Regions from separate parts of the Homo sapiens genome. Here region 2 is linked to region 1. Evidence: promoter capture Hi-C in human tissues and cell types (Jung and others, 2019). All regions are on one chromosome and are shown on one strand. Each heading gives the region's core, a stretch centred on a gene start or on the middle of the fragment in contact. The rest is flanking DNA. Distances are from core to core; before and after follow the strand shown.

Evidence for each region. Contacts are between HindIII fragments. The study calls those that stand out against the background at their distance.
Region 2: a contact is called between a fragment that was not itself captured here and the fragment with the promoter of ITIH4 in region 1, in 2 of the 25 tissues and cell types used here (spleen and thymus).

Annotation. Positions count from the first base shown.
Region 1 is chr3:52,828,457-52,832,242 of GRCh38, forward strand. It overlaps ITIH4 (inter-alpha-trypsin inhibitor heavy chain 4), which reads right to left and starts at 2,216. Exons shown (of 24, transcript NM_002218.5): 1 at 2,097-2,216; 2 at 663-823. The coding sequence starts at 2,186. RefSeq lists an enhancer at 1-176. The HindIII fragment of the contact is 7,752 bases long and covers 215-3,786 here.
Region 2 is chr3:53,033,259-53,037,508 of GRCh38, forward strand. All of the region lies in intron 1 of SFMBT1 (Scm like with four mbt domains 1), which reads right to left. Among named protein-coding and RNA genes, the nearest start is that of SFMBT1, 11 kb to the right of the region's middle. RefSeq lists an enhancer at 3,648-3,817. The HindIII fragment of the contact is 7,750 bases long and covers 1-4,250 here.

The DNA.
Region 1 (3,786 bases), core at 966-3,465:
ACCATCGCCCTGTTTCTGGGAAGAGTCTTGCCCTTGTCCTAAATCACAGCTTTTCCTGGCAGCAAGGGACAGGCGGCATCCTGGTGCATTTAGTAAACATTGGAAACTGAGTTGGGAAGGGTAGGGGAGGGTGGCAGAGGACAAAGTGAGGACCATCCTTGGCTCATAGAATTCAGAGAAACCTCAGGCATCTCTCACGCAGCCTGAGCAAAAATGTCCTCTGCAGGATCCCAGCTGGGGCAGACCTAGGAGAATCCTCCTCAAGCCACTCTCCACTGTGAGGAAGCCAAGGGTCTAGAAGGTTTTCTGTACTTTGAGCTGGAATGTGCATTTTGGTGACTCCCTCTTGCCTGGTCTGGCCTCAGGAGGCCTCAAGTCTGTGCTCCTCAAAGGCAAAGTCACAAAGATTCTGTGGTTCTCTGCCTAACACCTGGACAGCACTTAGGGATGATGAATGGCTGGATGGAGGGAAGGACGGGGGCATCTTTGAGAATAAGTCCTTTGGCAAGCCCCTGTTCCTGTGTGGCCCCAGGTGCAGGGTGTACTCCTGAAGATGTACACCCTGGCATGCCTTACTTCAAGAAGAGGGTTTGCTGGCACAGAGCGATGGAGTCATAGCACTGGGGGGTGTGGAGAGGGGAGGAGGGTGGGAAGGCACCTACATGGAGAAGTTGGTGATGAAGGCTTTCTTGGGCAGCTCCATCTGGAAGGTGGCCTCCTGCACAGTATTGGCCCTATTGACCACTCGGCTGGTGACGACCGTGTGGGCAAATCGGGATGAGACCCTGGAGTCCACGGTGAGGCTGTAGATGTCGATGCCATTCTGGACCAGCAAAGAAGAAGGGGGTTGCAGGGTTTCAATGCCACCTCAGCTCGGGGTGACGCTCTTCAAGAGTTGGCCCTGACTCTGGCTCTAGACCAAACCCTGGCTCCCAATCTGACTGAGCCACTGACCAGGCCTCAGGCTGAACCCAGTGAGGCATCTCATATGTGAACATTTGTCTCAGGTAAGAGATAGCAGTGTGCTTCATTCCCCACCCTACAGCACCACAGGGCAGGGGCCACGTCCTTCTTGATCTATAGGGGCCCAGAGCACCCCTTGGAGAAGAACAAGCATGCAGGGGGTGGAGCTGGTGAAGCCAGGGCCAGTGTCTGGGAGGGGCATCACACTCAGCCTTTGGGCAGGGGTGAGAGACCTGGTGGGGTCAGGGAGCTTTGCATGCTGGCTTAGCTTTGCCCAGAAAAAGGGCAGTGACCAGGTCCTTTGATTTCTGGAGACTTTGGCCTCTGTGGCAACAGGGAAGCTCCCACCAGTCTCCTAGAAGGAAGCCCTCAGAGCTGGGAGAATTCGGAGGTAGACTAGAGTCTGGTCTCTGAGAGTTGGGAATCTTCCTCTCTGCTCCGCAGTGGACCCTCCCCAACTCATCCCCACTTCCGCAGGGCACTCCCCTAGCAGGTGCCATTTGCCTTGAGGTCTGTGTCCCCCGAGGAGGGGCACACGGGCACCTCTTACCTGCTTGTGTGTGACATGCTCATGCGCACTGCACCAACTCTGCTCGGCTGCATGCGGCTGCCTGAATGCAGTTTGGCACAGAGGTGCCAAGTGGCTTGTTTATGTGCTTGGGTATTTGCTCTGCGACAAGCACTGTCCTAAGCACTTCATAGATACAATGGGTTTGGTTTTCACAACAAGCACTGTCCTAAGCACTTTATAGATACAATGGGTTTGGTTTTCACAACCGCCACCCTCTGAATAGGTTCTAGTATTACCCTGTTTTACAGATGAGGAAATTGAGACATAGTCAGCATAAATCATTCTCCTGAGGTCACTTACTAAAAGGCGGTAGAGCCAGGCTTGTAAAACTGTATTTCCTCATTTGGAAAATGGAAATGATTGGATCATCCCCTCTATTAGGTGGGAGAATACCAGTAAGGCCCTTGGGGTAGTGCCTGGCGGGAGGTCTGCACCATTTTTTTGCACACACAGGGATGCACACGCACTTGTGCTGACACGCTGGCACATGCGGAGGCTCTTCCCCACTTCCCAGGCGTTCTCTCATCCCCCAGCTCACGCCACACCCATGGACACTGGCTACCTTTTCGGCAGTAGTAGTCTGGTGGATGGCCAGCAGTGAAAGCAGGACGAGAACTTTGCTGCAGGTACGGACAGGCCTTGGGGGCTTCATCGTGGCTCCAGTGTCTGCCAGGAGGCTTCTGAACTCGACAGCAAGTGGGGAATGGATTAGTAACTTGTTTGCTGCCCCACCCACATGGGGGCAGGTTCTGGGAAATTGGGATCTACAAGCCAAAAACCACAGTGACCTCAGATAAGCAAATGACGAACGTCCCATGGACCTTGGCTGGGGGCAGGAATGTATACCAAAGAAAGGTAGGCTCAGTTTGGAGTGGGGGTACATGCCCCTTCTGAAAAGTGCGAAACCTTCACCAGGACCCTTCACACCAGGCATTCCACCAAGCTCCACAGGGCTGGGAGGGAATTGACAGTGAAGATGTCAGTCTGCTCTCCCTAAGTCCAGCCCGGGGAGAAACAGCGGGGGATGGTGGGGAAGACTAGGGCTACAGGGCTACCCTAGCGGCTTCCCGGAAGAAGGGGGCTTGGCCACCAGGTAAGTGTGTCTGGCTGATGGGAGGGCCCAAAGGCATGGAGTGACTCTGGGAGGTGTCTGTGTGGGGCAGATCTAGAGTCAGGATAGATACGCCGTATTTCTGAAGTGAGAGGTGCTGGGCACGGGGCGCCTCCTTCTCTCTCCTGGGGTCCCAGGTTGCTGTTTGGGTGCCATTAATCTAGCCAGGGCTTTAGGTTCAACCCCAGCAAGGCCCCCAAAACAAGAATGGCAATACAACTGAGTCATAAACCTGCCACATCCTGTGGCACAGAGGTCTCCATGCGGGGAGTTTATTGACAGAAGAGCATGGAACAGAAGACAGACCTGACAGTGCCAGCAGCTCCTGAGGGGTGACTGGGGAGTCATTTGGTGGAGCAGAGGGAGCCCAGGAATCGCTGGTTGAGAGAGGGCAGAATGCTGTTGTCATGAGCAGTGTGATGCTGCCACAGCCCAGACCCAGGGGAGCGCTGCCCAAAGGCCTGGGGTGGGTCCCGGCCTTGCTAAAGTTGAAGCGCTCTGCTCCTTGTAAAGTGGGATCGAGTGAGTACATATTATGCGCTCTGGGCACCGCTGGGGCTCGTGTTCCCTGGTGGCTCTGGGGAAGCCAGCTCCTGAGTCTGTGGCCACAGATGGGTAAAGATGAGTCATAAAAGTGTGGCCAGATGCCAAGTCCTGGATCAGGGAAGGACGGCGGCTCCGTGACACCAGCCCTGAGGGGGCCAGCTGCCTTGGGAACCTATCGGGGGCCTTGGGGCAGCCAGTGGCTTCCAGAGGCTGGGGAGGGTTTCTCCACCAGTCCTGTCTCCATTAGAGGTGGCGGCAGGCCTGGGGCAAAGGTGCCATAGACTGGAGCTATTTCTACAGCTGCAAGGAAGACGTTCCCCTTCCTTAGCATGACTGGCCAGAAGCCTCATCTCTGCGCACGTCTCCACTGCTCACCCTTTTGGCTCTGGATACGATTGGGATTACACAGGGGAACACGCTCCTTTCAGTGTCTGGGGGAAGAGTCTCCCCATGGAGTCCAGCAAGTAGGACTGGGCCCTTCCTCACAGCAGGGCTGCTCCCTTGGGGCAGAGAGCACAGGCCCAGCCCGGACTCAGGGCTATATAAGGTGGCCAGGCTGGCCGGGACTGTGGGAAACGTTCTGGGCAGCCAGAAC
Region 2 (4,250 bases), core at 96-2,595, 200 kb after region 1:
CCGGCAATTCTCCTGCCTCAGCCTCCCAAGTAGCTGGGATTACAGGCACACATCACCACGCCCAGCTAACTTTTGTATTTTTAGTAGAGACGGGGTTTCACCATGTTGGCCAGGCTGGTCTCAAATGCCTGACCTCAAGTGATCCACCCGCCTCGGCCTCCCAAAGTGCTGGGACTGCAGGTGTGAGCCGCCGCGCCCGGCCCAACATTTTTTTAATACTAACTTTTTTTGCAGCCATTTTTACCCCCCTCAACTACAAGCTTTTATCAAAATTTTGAAAGAGATTTTGAAAAAATTCCAAATACTCTCTACTTAGATTCAAAAATTTTAAATTTCCTAATTATCTTTCTATATACACAAAGATTTATACACACACACGTATTTTATGAGCCATCTGAAAATGCTGAGGATATCATACCTCACCCTCTAAACTCTTCAGCTTGCATCTCCCAAGAATAAGCACATTCTCCTTTATGTATAACTACAATGCCATTATCACACCAAAAAAGACAAAAAAAAAAAAAAAATCACCCTGGCGCAGTGGCTCACGCCTGTAATCCCAGCAGTTTGAGAGGCCAAGGCAGGCGGGTCACCTGAGGTCAGGAGCTCGAGACCAGCCTGATCAACATGGAGAAACCCTGTCTCTACTAAAAATAAAAAAATTAGCGGGGTGTGGTGGCGCATGCCTGTAATCCCAGCTACTTGGGAGGCTGAGGCAGGAGAACTGCTTGAACCCAGGAGGCGGAGGTTGCGGTGAGCCGAGATGGCGCCATTGCACTCCAGCCTGGGCAACAAGAGCAAAACTCTGTCTCCAAAAAAAAAAAAAAAAAAAAAAAAATCAACAATTCCTTAATATCATCTATTATCAGGTACTTCTTTTTAAATACAAAGGACTTTGTTGAAATTTTATTGAAGGAATGTGTTTTAATAAACTGGTTAGATTTATTACTTGCATTGCATTTTGACATTTTTAAAATGTAATAATACTTTATAAAATTTAAGTTAAGGAATCTTTCCTTGGCAAGATTCATCACTGGCACGGGCATGGTAGCTCATGCGTATAATCCCAACACTGTGGGAGGCCCAGGCGGGCAGATCACTTGAGGTCAGGAGTTTGAGACCAGCCTGACCAACATGGTGAAATCCCATCTCTACTAAAAATACAAAAATTAGCTGGGTGTGGTGGTGCGTGCCTGTCTATAATCCCAGTTGCTCAGGAGGCTGAGGCAGGAGAATCACTTGAACCAGGAGGCGGAGGTTGCAGTGAGCCAAGATCGCACCACTGTACTCCAGCCTGGGTGACAACAGTCTGTTTCAAAAAATAAATAAATTAATTAATTAAAAATAAATTTAAAAAATAAATAAAAATTAAAAACATATTAAAAGAATAATTGTGGGCCAGGCATAGTGGCTCATGCCTATAAACCCAGCATTTTGGGAGGCTGAGGCGGGCAGATCACTTGAGATCACGAGTTCGAGACCAGCTTGGCCAACACGGAGAAACCCCCATCGCTACTAAAAATATAAAAAATTAGCCAGGCGTGGTGGCACGTGCCTGTAATCCCAGCTACTTGGGAGGCTGAGGCAGGAAAACTGCTTGAACCCTGGAGGCAGAGGCTGCAATGAGCCAAGATCGAGCCACTGCACTCCAGTCTGGGCGACAGAGCGAGACTCTGTCTCAAAATAATGATAATAATAATTTTGGTAATCAAATATACCAAAAAGTGTGACAGCGGTCCATGTGAGACTGACATTTTGGGAGCACTGCCTTAGCAGAACAACACCCTAAGCGGATGGAACATGGCAGGAAAGGATTTACAGGAGAGTGGGTTGGTGAGGCTGCAGAGGCCATGAGAGAAGGGAATAAGCTGGACAAATGGACTGGGCCTGAGTGCTTCAAGGATTCCGCATGCCTTCCTGAGGAGTTTGGACTTTACCCGGCCAAATGTGGGATTTTATGTGACTAAAATCAAGTTTGTTTAGAAAGCTCTACTTGGCCTCAGTGCTTCAAGGATTCCGCATGCCTTCCTGAGGAGTTTGGACTTTACCCGGCCAAATGTGGGATTTTATGTGACTAAAATCAAGTTTGTTTAGAAAGCTCTACTTGGCCTCAGTGTAGCTGGATGGATGGGAGAGGTGGGGAAGGTAGGGAGACCATTTGGAAGCAACAGAACAAGGTTTGTATTTTTCACTGCTAATATGTAACATTTTAGTTTTATGGGTTGAATAAGCCTACTACATTGATAAATGAACAAAACAAAAACAGTAAAACTAAACAAAGTTTATCTTGAAAATGTTCATGTTGGTAGAATAGCAACTTTCAAAAGAGTCAGCAGAGACTTAAGTAAATTTTTTTTAAATGGAGTCTCACTCTGTTGCCCAGGCTGGAGTGCAGTGGTGCCATCTCATCTCACTGAAACCCCCACTTGCCAGGTTCAAGTGATTCTCCTGCCTCAGCCTCCCCAGTAGCTGGGATTACAGGCACATGTCACCACGCCCAGCTAATTTTTTATTAAAATTGATGGGGTTTCACTATTTTGGCCAGGCTGGTCTCAAACTCCTGGCCTCAAGTGATCCGCCCACCTCAGCCTCCCAAAATACTGGGATTACAGGCGTGAGCAACCGCACCCGGCCAGAGACGTAAGTAAATTTTGAAAGGAGCCCTTCAGCATTTTTGACAGTCTCAGCATTTGATGAAGCTCTTTTTAATATCTAGTTTCACTTTCCAAGGTGTCTTTCCTTTTCCTTGGCAAGGTTCATCACTGGCACTAGTTTTACATTTATCAGTCACAATCAAAATTTAAATTTCCAAAGGAAGGAAGTGGGGTACAGAATAGATAAAATGGTTTAAAACATAGAGCATGCCCTCAAAGCAGTGCTGACAGCAACTCTGAGGAGCTCCATTTATGCAGAATCCACTGGGAAGGCTGCCCCAAGAGCCAGCCGCCAGTCCTGCCTGGGAGGAGAGGGAAGCAGAGAATGTCCAGCTATCCTGCCGTGGGACAGGATGCTGGCCCTTCACCCCTACTCCACTAGGAGGACTCTCATTTTATTTTACTTATCGGGCTTCCTAGAAAGATTTCATTTGAACAAAGGGTTCCACAACTTTAAAAACACTTGAAAACCAAGGAGTCAGAACTGTACGTTCTAACTCCAAGGCTGGCAATTGAAGAATAAGACCTCAAGTCCCACAGGAAAGCTCCCAGTGGACAAAACAAACACCATCGCTGAGGAGCAATGTAAAGAAAGAGACCTGGGCAAACAGGCCCACTAGAGGACTGGCGTCTTTGGGGTAGAAGGAGAAATTCTATTTTGGACCTGTGGATTCTGAGATGCCAGTGTGGCACCCAACTTGGAAGCCCAACGGGCAGGGATGTAGGGGTCTTAGAGGAGCACAGGAGCTAGACAAACTCTAAATGTGGACAACTTCATTGAGAGAGATGTAAATAGAAAGAAGGGAAGGTCTTAAAAGGTTACAGAAGGCAAAGACAGAAAGGTCTGCCTCAAGACAGGTCTTTCTGGAGAACCTGAATTCTCCTCCAAGGTAGTCTATATCCAGGAGCAGAGAGAGGCACTGGCTGGAAGGCTGCAGGTGGCTTACGGGGCCACAGAAGGGAAAGAGGGAAAGAACAAAGTGGATTGGCTAGGGAGCAGCTCAAAGATTAGACAGTGGGTCCAGGCCTGATGGGGCTGGGACTCTGGGAGAAAATGAAGGTCACAATGAGATAAAAGACGAGGCATAGGGAGAACAGGGAATCCTCTGAAGGAGGCTGTAGAGAACCCAACATTTCACCAGCACACTATTCCGGAAAGCACTCCTGTCAGACAAAGTCAATAGAAAGCCAAAAACAGGAGTAAAAGTCAATGGCTAGGAGAGGAGCTAGGGTGAGGGCAGTTGTGTCTTACCGCCCTGACTGGCTGCGGGATCATGCAGCCCTCCTCAAGCACTTGCTGCAGAAAAGGAAGACTCTCCCTAGAAGGGGAGGCCAGAAGAGACCACCCAGCCCTCTGCTTCCCTTGTCATAGCCATTCCTGAGAATGGAGCCTGACAACAAAGAAAGTCATTTGAAGCTCTTCTCTGTTGATTGAGGAGCCCAATTGAATACTTACAGGAAAACTGGGTACAGATAATGCCTAGGAGAAGATCTAAGCCTGTTTCCCAATTTGCATATGGTGTTATTCATATTAACGATAAAGAAAACTACGTATTTTTAAGTGCAACTATAACTTGATTGAGGACTGGAAAGCCA